Regions from separate parts of the Homo sapiens genome. Here regions 2 and 3 are each linked to region 1. Evidence: promoter capture Hi-C in human tissues and cell types (Jung and others, 2019). All regions are on one chromosome and are shown on one strand. Each heading gives the region's core, a stretch centred on a gene start or on the middle of the fragment in contact. The rest is flanking DNA. Distances are from core to core; before and after follow the strand shown. Region 1 holds the start of TRIML2 (tripartite motif family like 2). Region 2 has its middle 48 kb from the start of TRIML2. Region 3 holds the start of LINC02434 (long intergenic non-protein coding RNA 2434).

Region 1 (3,306 bases), core at 546-3,045:
AGGACAAATAATTATAATAAGGAAATATCATGAAATTTGGCACCCGATTCAAATTCCATATCTTCAATTTTCTGCACCCAGTGCTCTTGGTCAATTACTTAATCCCGTGACTTAATCTCTACGTCATCTACTTCATCAGCTGCAGATGTACCTCACGGGGTTGGAGCATGCAACAGGTGGGGCATGTAACAGTAAATAAGGGTTTAGCACACTTTTTTGTAATGTTTTTAGAATTATCTTAAAATATTGACTCTTCTAGAATTAATAATTTAATTATTAATAAATATTTATTTAATAGTAAAACAGGCTTTAATAAGTATTTATTTAAGCATTTAATACTCTAAAACAGGCTTTAAGAGACTTCAAAACCTGACAATATGCTTGATGTTTATTTTCCATTTGATTCAAAGATTACAAAGTTTTCTTGTCAAGATGAGTAAGCTCAAGAGTTATGAAAGCTCAAGGGATGGTGAGAGTAAATGACAGAGTATCTGACAACAAGTATGTGTGAGTATCTTCACAGACGTTGGCCGTACCCAGGCTTAGAAGAGAAAGGAAGATTGGATTAGAAAAATAAGAGAAGTAAAGGAGGATGGACTGGCTGAGGAGGGGAGGGGGCACAGGAATAAATGTGGTCTATTTGAAGAAAGCTGGGGAATTGGGTTTTGGAAAAGAGAGTGGGTGTAGGTAATCATCTGAGATAAGAGAAAGGGTGTATGGCCAGGCGCGGTGGCCAGAACTTTTGGAGGCCAAGGAGGGTGGGTCACCTGAGGTCAGGAGTTTGAGACCAGCCTGGCCAACATGGTGAAACCCCATCTCCACTAAAAATACAAAAATTAGCTGGGTGTGGTGGGCGCCTATAATCCCAGCTACTCGGGAGGCTGAAGTGGGAAAATTGCTTGAACCTGGGAGGCGGAGGCTGCAGTGAGCCGAGATCGCTCCACCGCACTCCAGCCTAGGCAACAGAGTGAGACTCTCATCTAAAAAAAAAAAAAAAGAAAGAAAAAAGAAAAAGAGAAACGGTGTATTGAGATTCCATAAGGTAGAACCAGGTTCTGAAAGATCAGATAAGCAAAGCAGAAGAATTCTCATTATCCTGTCAGCAGCATAAAGAAAAAAACTCCCTGGTTTGATTAGCAGGGGATTGACTGACTGATGCAATAAAAACCCTCGGGGACAAAACTATAAAACTTAGAAAGCTGTGAAGAGTTCCTCCTCACTGAAGCCAAATATCAAGTATGAATTATCTGGGATTGTTCCCTGACCTCCCATCTGTGACAGATTCCATAGGCAGTTATCCCTACTCTTGGTTTTTCTTTCCACAGATACTGGAATGAACACTTCTCCAGCAAACGTTCTAGAAACTAACAAGTCAGGCATTATTTTCTACTAAGGAACAAACACAGTCTTGAGTGTTAGCTCGAAGGCTTCTTTCCTGTGAAATTGTCAATATACACTAGATTCATTAAGAAAGAAAACCCCAAACCTTAAGGAGCTAGAGGTGTTAGGCACTGTACATGGCACTGGAGATAAAACAAGATATTTATCCAACCAAGGTCAGGGCTATTAAGCATTTTCTGGGAGTCCATTAAAAATGTAAATTACGGACCCCACCGTAGATTTCTGGAATCAGAGACCCTGTGAAGAGGCTTGCGTTTTAATAAACTCAGGTGGTTCTAATGAGATTAATTGTGTGAATATGATAAGAAACTTCACAGACGCCTTCCTGATGGTGTGAGGGCGGGGCTGAGGGAGGAATTGAACAGATAAAATCTCTTCAGTCTCCACTGTTCCAGCTTTTTCCCTAAAGGAAATACCTTGGTTCGGTGTGGTGACTCATTCCTGTAATCCCAGTACTTTGGGAGGCTGAAGCAGGCAGATTGCTTGAGCCCAGGAGTTCAAGACCAGCCTGGGAAAAATACTGAAACCCCGTCTCTACAAAAAATACAAAAATTAGCCGGGTGTGGTCGTGCAGCGCCTGTAATCCCAGCTACTCAGGAGGTCAAGGTGGGAGAATCACTTGAGCCTGGGAGCTCGAGGCTGTAGTGAGCCGAGATTGCGCCACTGCATTCCAGCCTGGGTGACAGAGCAAGACCCTGTCTCAAAAAAAAAAAAAAAAAAAAAAAAGGAAATACCCAGGATTGCTACAAAGAAAGTAAGTGAGATTTTCTCTATAGATCATTTTCTTAATAATTGTTTCTTTAGATTTCTAAACTTGATCTTAGAATCTATGTGTGTGTGTGTGTATCTGTGTGTTATCAGGAAAAAGCCTGAAGAAAAATATTAGGAAAAACAAAATAAGGGTAGACAACATGCTGGGGACTTAATTCGTCAATTTTCCTTTGCTGTTTCTGTAAAAATATTTAGTCTCTGTCCCTCTCTCATTACACCTTCAATTTTTACTGGTTTAACATAAAATATCGTTTACAATATTTATTGTGCATCGAGTATGTCAGATGTAGACACAGGGCATCTCAAGGACTTAGTTTCTTATGGATGGAGAGTGACCCACAAGTAAACTTGTTCATAGAAAGATAAAATCTTTTCGCTACTAAGAAAATAAAATAAGGAGATGAGTAGTGGGAAGGTATTTCAAATTGAGTAGTGATGGAAAGGTCTCTCTTGGGAAGACATTTGAGCTGAGAACTGAAGAGAAGAAAGAAGAGGCAGCTGGAATTGCAAAAATATGAGAGAAGAGCTCTGTTGGCCACGGAAGGGGGAAGGGCTGTGATGAATTAGAGGCAGCTAGATTGACAGTGATGGGGGAAAGCTATAGAGAGATCAGAAGAAGGCAGGAGGCCAGATTGTATAGGACGGGGTTATTACCCACTTCGATCTTACTCTAATGCCATAGAAAGTGACCACAAACCTGCTCACTTGGTTTTGGTTTTAAAATAGTATTCTGGTGGTTGAGCAGAGAGGAGCTGGAGATGGACGAGGAGGGCAGGACAGAATATAAATTTGGAAAACAATAGTTGAATTGGTGAAAGGAAGGCTTAAACTGTGGCTCTAAAGGAATGAGTTTGGGGGAAGAGAGCCACTGGGTTGAGATCCTGAGCGGCTTTAGATATGTTAATTTTGAGTGCTCCTTAGACATTCTATTGCAAAAATGTTGGGAATTGGGCAGGAGATTGAAATCGGAGAATGGAACTTAAATCTTCAGAAACGAGTAAGATTACCTAGGGAGAGACCAGGACTGGGAGACCAGAACTCAACCTTGAAGCACCCCAAGATTGAGAGGTTCAGAGGATGTGGGACCAGAAAAGGCCACGGAGAACAAGACCAGACAAGTTAGAGGAATGTCAG
Region 2 (3,306 bases), core at 221-2,720, 48 kb after region 1:
ATATTTCTATGCTGTAAATCTGCCAGGGACTTTTCATCTCATTCAGACTAAAAGTCAGAGTCTTATAATGGCCTACAAGGGCCCCAAGGGTGATCTGGACCCTCATGTCCCACCTCCACCCCCACTAGGGCATTATCTCCCATCTCCCCTCCTCAGACTGAACTCTCTGCTGCAGTAACTCCAACTCCCCTGTTCTTCAAACACACAACACGCACTGCCAGTCGAGGCCCTGACACATGCTGGCCATTAGGCCTGGAATACCCTCCCGGAAACAGCCCCACGGCTCCTACCCATGCTGCTTCCATCTAATGCTCAATAACAATTTTAACAGGAATTTTTTAAACTAGAAATCTGATTCTGAAGAAGGTATGGAAAAATAAGTGAATAAGAATAACAGGCAAAAGTATAAATCTGAGAAATACTTTATGCAAGTAATTAGCCCTACAAGATAATAAAACAATAATAATTAGGCTGGGTGCAGTGGCTCACGCTTGTAATCCCAGCACTTTGGGAGGTCAAGGCAGATGAATCACAGGGTCAGGAGTTCGAGACAAGCCTGGCTAATATGGTGAAACCCCATCTCTACTAAAAATACAAAAATTAGCTGGGCGTGGTGGCAGTTACCTGTAATCCCAGCTACTTGGGAGGCTGAGGCAGGAGAATCACTTAAACCTGGGAGGCAGAGGTTGCAGTGAGCAGAGACTGGGCCACTGCACTCCAGCCTGGGAGATAGAGCGAGACTCCGTCTCAAAATAAATAAACAAATAAGTAAATAAATAAATGAATAAAATAATAATAATAACATTGAAAACACAGTATTACTAGAATATGAAGATATAGACTCATCAATGAAACAGAATGAAGTCCAGTAAAAGACTCAAATACATATGGAAATCTAGTATTGATAAAGGTGATATTTCAAATCAATTGAGAAAGATGGATTATTCTACAAATAGTGTTGCAACAAGAGGAGCTATTTGAAGAAAAAAATTAATTGTATCTCTACCTCACACTTTAAACCAAAATAAATCCCAATGTTCACATACTTACACTTCAAAACTGATACCATAAAAGTGCTAAAAGAAAACACAGTTGAATACTTTTATAAAATTGGAATATATTAGCCTCCTCAGTATATTAAACTCAAAAACAACAAAAATCACAGATTGATTTGACTTTTAAAATAAGGCCGGGCGCAGTGGCTCACGCCTGTAATCCCAGCACTTTGGGAAGCCGAGACAGGCAGATCACCTGAGGTCAGGAGTTAGACACCAGCCTGACCAACATGGAGAAACCCTGTCTCTACTAAAAATACAAAATTAGCTGGGCGTGGTGGTGCATGCCTGTAGTCCCAGCTACTCGGGAGGCTGAGGCAGGAGAATCGCTTGAACCTGGGAGGCGGAGGTTGAGGTGAGCTGAGATCGTTCCATTCACTCCAGCCTGGGCAACAAGAGCAAAACTCTGTCTCAAAAAAAAAATTATAATAATAATAATAATTAAAATTTTTCACATAACTAAAAATTTAAAATAATAAAGATGAAATAAATGTTAAATTAGAAAGCAAATATATGTCTTATATCATAGACAAGAAACTAACTTAATCTATGAGATGCTTTTTCAAATGAATGAGGAAACAAACAGGAAAATAGGCAAAGAATGTAAGAAGTAGTTTACAGAAGAATGTAAATTGTTCTTAAGCTTATAAAAGATGTTCTTAATAAGGAAAATGCAAACTAAATCTACCGGAGATAACGTTTCTTACCCTTGAATTTGTCAGTAATTCAAAATGTTGACAACCTACTTTGGGCAAGGCTGCAGAAACAGAGGCCCGCTGGGACCACAGTCTGTGGGACCGTGAAGCTCTCTGGCTCCACCGCGGTCCGTGGCACCGTGAAGCTCTCTGGCTCCACCACGGTCCGTGGCACCGTGAAGCTCTCTGGCTCCACCACAGGGGCCTCTGTGTGTGTTCTCCCAGGCACTTCCACTTAGAGCTTCCTTTGTTAACGCCTAGTTAATGCTGATGCATTCGTCCGAGCCCACTTCAGCATCATCTCCTCAAGGAACCCTTCCCTGACCTGGCTTCCATCCCCAATCCTCTCCTGCCCTGCATGCTCATAATACTTATTCATAGCACCTCTCAAAAAGGGTTATTTATTCATCTGGCACTTGCTTTTCTCACTCAAAGTCAAAATTTACAAGGTCAAAATCTTTAGCGATCCTTTCCTCCAATATTTGGCTCCTACTGGGTGTAGTTGCATGGCAATTAAAGAATAAACTTTTAGTTATCTGTGCCATTTCATTACGTTCTCTCAGCCTCTGTTGTCTCAAGAAAATATAAGCGTCCTTGGGAGATTGTGACTGTTAAATGAGATATAAAGTCCATAACATAATGCTTGACACAGAGTAAACCCTCAACACAGGGAAGCTATACTAATATTTAATTATAATTATCATTACCAAGGCAATGTGTGCCTGGTTGGGACAGATTAACATGTGCCAAGCTTCAGTTGTTGGTTTTCTTTTTGTTTTTGTTTTTGTTTTGAGATGGAGTCTGGCTCTGTTGCCCAGGCTGGAGTGCAGGGGCGCGATCTCGGCTCACTGCAAGCTCCGCCTCCCGGGTTCACGCCATTCTCCTGCCGCAGCCTCGGTTGTGCTCACCTCTGCTCCACTACTGTTGCAGTGGCTATGTTCTGTCGAAACTCTTATTTACTGAATATTTTACTTTCAGTGACTAACTTCTTTAAATTAAATGTCTACTTTAACCTCACACAAAATTAATCTCTGCAAAAGTATTAGTTTTTTATGTATTTTCTGCAATAAATCGTTATCTAATAAAAAGCTTTCCTGGTGATCACCAAAATTATCATGAGAAGATGCTACTTGACTCAGTCCTTGGGAAATGCGGAGATAAATAATCACTTGATGTTTATCATTCCCCTTCTTTGCATGTCTCTAAATTGTACCTATTAGAATTATTTATCTCTGTGTTTATCTTCATCATTAACTGGGATGTCTAAGGGCAAGGACTGTGACTGTAAATTCTACTGCCGGTGATTACTAAGATACTTTCCCAGAACAGAGGCTCAATAAATATTTGCTAAATGAATTAAACAGTTTTTGAATGCCTACATTGATTAAGAAATATGCTAGACATGTTGGCAGGACTCAAAGAATAATCAGAGATTCTCAATCAAGAAGTTAGCAAGTTATAAAAGAAATATGTTTATTTTTCTATAAAAATGTATATGTTATACAACTTATAGGTATGTTATACGTATGTAGTTACTTTCCATGAATGTTAAGAGT
Region 3 (3,306 bases), core at 366-2,865, 49 kb before region 1:
TCAGGAGGGTCTCCTGGCTGCCTCTGCAGTGAGATCGCATCACCAAGCAGCAATCTGGTCCCTCCTGTCTTCAGCCTGGGGCTATTTTTTCCCCTGGCTCCAGAAGCAGAGAGGCCAAGAAACCTCGAGCTTTTCTTCTCAAACAGGTTTACAGAACCAGTGTTTCCTTTCTGAGAAGCGAGACAACTGGGAGACAGGGAGGGTTGGGGGAAAGGAGAGTGACAATTGGAAGGAGAGGGGCACAATTTGGAGGGACAAAACGGGGAGCTGAGAAAAACAGCCTCCGAAAGCAGCCGGACCCTGCAAGGACCCTCCCACACCGCACCTCACTCCTCTCACACACACACCCCTCACCTAGAGGAGAGTCACCTCTCCAGAGCACCTGGGCCTTCATTCCCATCTGCAAGAGGGCAGGGCTCCCAGATACTCTGTGATGACGCGTGGGCCCCACCAAAATAGAACCGAACAGAACTGGTGGAGAAAGAATTTGTTTGAAATTTGTGGATCCACCATCACTGTGAAAAACACACCCCAGAAAGCAAATCACCACTCTAGACACTGACTTACAATGCAGAGGAGTTTACCATTTAGACCGGAAGGAGGTGAACGCGTGAGTCGATGCGGAGTTCACTGTTCAGACCGGAAGGAGGTGAACCCGTGAGTCCATGCGGAGGAGTTCACTGTTCAGACCGGAAGGAGGTGAACCCGTGAGTCGATGCGGAGGAGTTCACTGTTCAGACCGGAAGGAGGTGAACCCGTGAGTCCATGCGGAGGAGTTCACTGTTCAGACCGGAAGGAGGTGAACCCGTGAGTCGATGCGGAGGCGTTCACTGTTCAGACCGGAAGGAGGTGAACCCGTGAGTCCATGCGGAGGAGTTCACTGTTCAGACCGGAAGGAGGTGAACCCGTGAGTCGATGCGGAGGCGTTCACTGTTTAGACCGGAAGGAGGTGAACTCGTGAGTCCATGCGGAGGCGTTCACTGTTTAGACCGGAAGGGGTGAATGGGTGAGTTGATGCGGAGGAGTTCACTGTTCAGACCGGAAGGAGGTGAACCCGTGAGTCCATGTGGAGGCGTTTACTATTTCAACAGGAAGCGGATGATGAATCCCTGAGTCAAATGAAAGACAATGTTTGAAACTCTCAGGAATGTTTAGGAAGGCGTCATAAGAGATGAAGAGTGAGGGAATCAGAAACTCAGAAGGACCAGATTTGGGGCAGTATGCTTCGAGGCTGTTTTGTCCAGCCAACCCAACGCTGGAATCACCCCAAAAGCAGCGGCGGGGGAATTCCCACAAGGGAGTACTCTGAACTGTTCCAGGATGGGGTCGATTGGGATTCCAAAGAAAGAAGCCCTCATCAGCAGGGTGCTCAGTTCAGAGCAGTTATGAGGGGAGCTTACAGAGGCCACAGCGATCCTTGGAGAGAAAGGGGTGCTCTGTATGGACACAGGGAGGGGAACAACACACACTGGGGCCTGTCGGTGGGGCAGGGGGAGGGAGAACATCAAGATAAATAGTGAATACATGCGGGGCTTAAATACCTAAATGACGGGGTGATAGGTTCAGCAAACCACCGTGGCACATGTTTACCTATGTAACAAACCTGCGTGTCCTGCACATACATTCCAGAACTGAAAATTAAATTACATTTTTAAAAAGTATTTATATAATAACCAGAAAAAAAAAAAAGAGAGACTGGGCACAGTGGCTCAAACCTGTAATCCCAGCTCTTTGGGAGGCTGAGGCGGGCGGATCACCTGAGGTCAGGAGTTCAAGACCAGCCTGGCCAACGTGGTGAAACCCCGTCTCTACTAAAAATACAAAAATTAGCAGGGCGTGGTGGTATGCGCCTGTAATCTCAGCTACTCAAGAGGCTGAGACACGAGAATTGCTTGAACCCGGGAGGCAGAGGCTGCAGTGAGCTGAGACCACTCCACTGCACTTCAGCCTGGGTGACAGAGTGAAACTCCATCTCAAAAAAAAGGTGTTCTACCTGCGTGTGTCTGCAGTGAGGGGTTCAGGGATTATGGAATGTGAGAGTTTTAAGAAATTTGGTTAGGGGCCAGGGCCAGTTTCTTTCCGTGTTTCGGGCGACAACCTCGAGACCTTAATGAGTGTCTGGGAATGTTCGAGACTCCGGTTTGGGCCCGGTTTGGGTTTGGGCGTGCTGGGAGAAGCTTGCACCTGGCTGGGTGAAGAGCTGTCAGGACACTCTGTGATTCTTGGTCAGGGCACAGAAAGAAAGTGAAGTAGGGGAGAAGGGTTACTGGGGGACCCCACAGAGGCCATTGCAAAACTGGTGAGGTAGAGTTTCCGTAAGGACAGTAAGGACAGAACCAGGACCCCCAGGCAGAAATGGGAGGAATAGAAGGCAATATTCCGACCTCAGTTTCAGGTTCTTGGTCAGAACTGTGAGGAATCAGGGCAGTGTCTAAAACCTCAAACAGCGTCATGCTAGTGTAGACGTCCAAGCTTGGTGAGGAGCGATTCATAGTTAGCACTGTTGAGTGCTTACACCTGAAATTAAGTGATGCTCCAAGTACAAGTGTTATGTCATTTCATGCATACGACAGCCCTAGACAGCCCTGTGAAGCAGTATTATTTCCTTTTTTTTTTTTTTTTTTTTTGAGAGAGGGTATCGCTCTGTCGCTCAGGCTGGAATGCAATGGCACAATCACGGCTCACTGCAGCCTCGACCTCCCAGGCTTAAGTGATGCTCCCACCTCAGCCTCCTTAGTAACTGGGACCACAGGTGTGTGCCACCATACCTGGCTCATTCTTTTTATTTTTGGTAATAGTATTACTTGGGGTCTCACTATATTGCCCAGGCTGGTCTTGAGCGGGGCTCAAGCGATCCTCCTGCCTGGGCCTCCCAACTTGCTGAGGTTACCATGTACTGGCCCGGATATTATTTTCAAACACATTTTCCTGATGAGGGGACTGAGGCATGGGGAGACAAGCTGGTACAGTTAGTAAGTGGTGAGTGGTGGAGCTGAGATTTGAACCCAGCAGACCTGGCTTTACTGCCTTTGTGCTTCATCTTCGTATCTGGCTAACCCAGAGGCAGATGTACAATGGAGCTAGAGAAACTTAAGTTTCAGGCCCTTATTTATTTGATACTCTCTAAGACACTGGGCCTAATTTTATCATTTGTAATTTTTAAATTATTTTTTCTTTTTTTTTTTTTTGAGACAGAGTCTCTCTCTGCCACCAGGCTGGAGTGCAGTGGCGCCATCTCGGCTCACTGCAACCTCTGTCTCCCGGGTTCAAGTGATTCTCCTGCCTCAGCCTCCCAAGTAGTTGGAA

Evidence for each region. The method cuts DNA at HindIII sites, captures the fragments that hold promoters and counts their contacts. A contact is called where the count stands out against the background at its distance.
Region 2: a contact is called between a fragment that was not itself captured here and the fragment with the promoter of TRIML2 in region 1, in 2 of the 25 tissues and cell types used here (H1 embryonic stem cells and hippocampus).
Region 3: a contact is called between a fragment that was not itself captured here and the fragment with the promoter of TRIML2 in region 1, in 1 of the 25 tissues and cell types used here (spleen).

What each region holds. Positions count from the first base shown.
Region 1 is chr4:188,108,092-188,111,397 of GRCh38, reverse strand. It overlaps TRIML2 (tripartite motif family like 2), which reads left to right and starts at 1,795. Exons shown (of 8, transcript NM_173553.4): 1 at 1,795-2,155. RefSeq lists enhancers at 2,764-3,282, 3,283-3,306. The HindIII fragment of the contact is 13,208 bases long and covers 1-3,306 here.
Region 2 is chr4:188,059,887-188,063,192 of GRCh38, reverse strand. No RefSeq gene overlaps it. Among named protein-coding and RNA genes, the nearest start is that of TRIML2, 48 kb to the left of the region's middle. The HindIII fragment of the contact is 3,324 bases long and covers 1-3,132 here.
Region 3 is chr4:188,157,381-188,160,686 of GRCh38, reverse strand. LINC02434 (long intergenic non-protein coding RNA 2434) reads right to left here and starts at 634. Exons shown (of 2, transcript NR_187427.1): 1 at 585-634; 2 at 1-186. RefSeq lists an enhancer at 238-1,437. The HindIII fragment of the contact is 3,258 bases long and covers 1-3,244 here.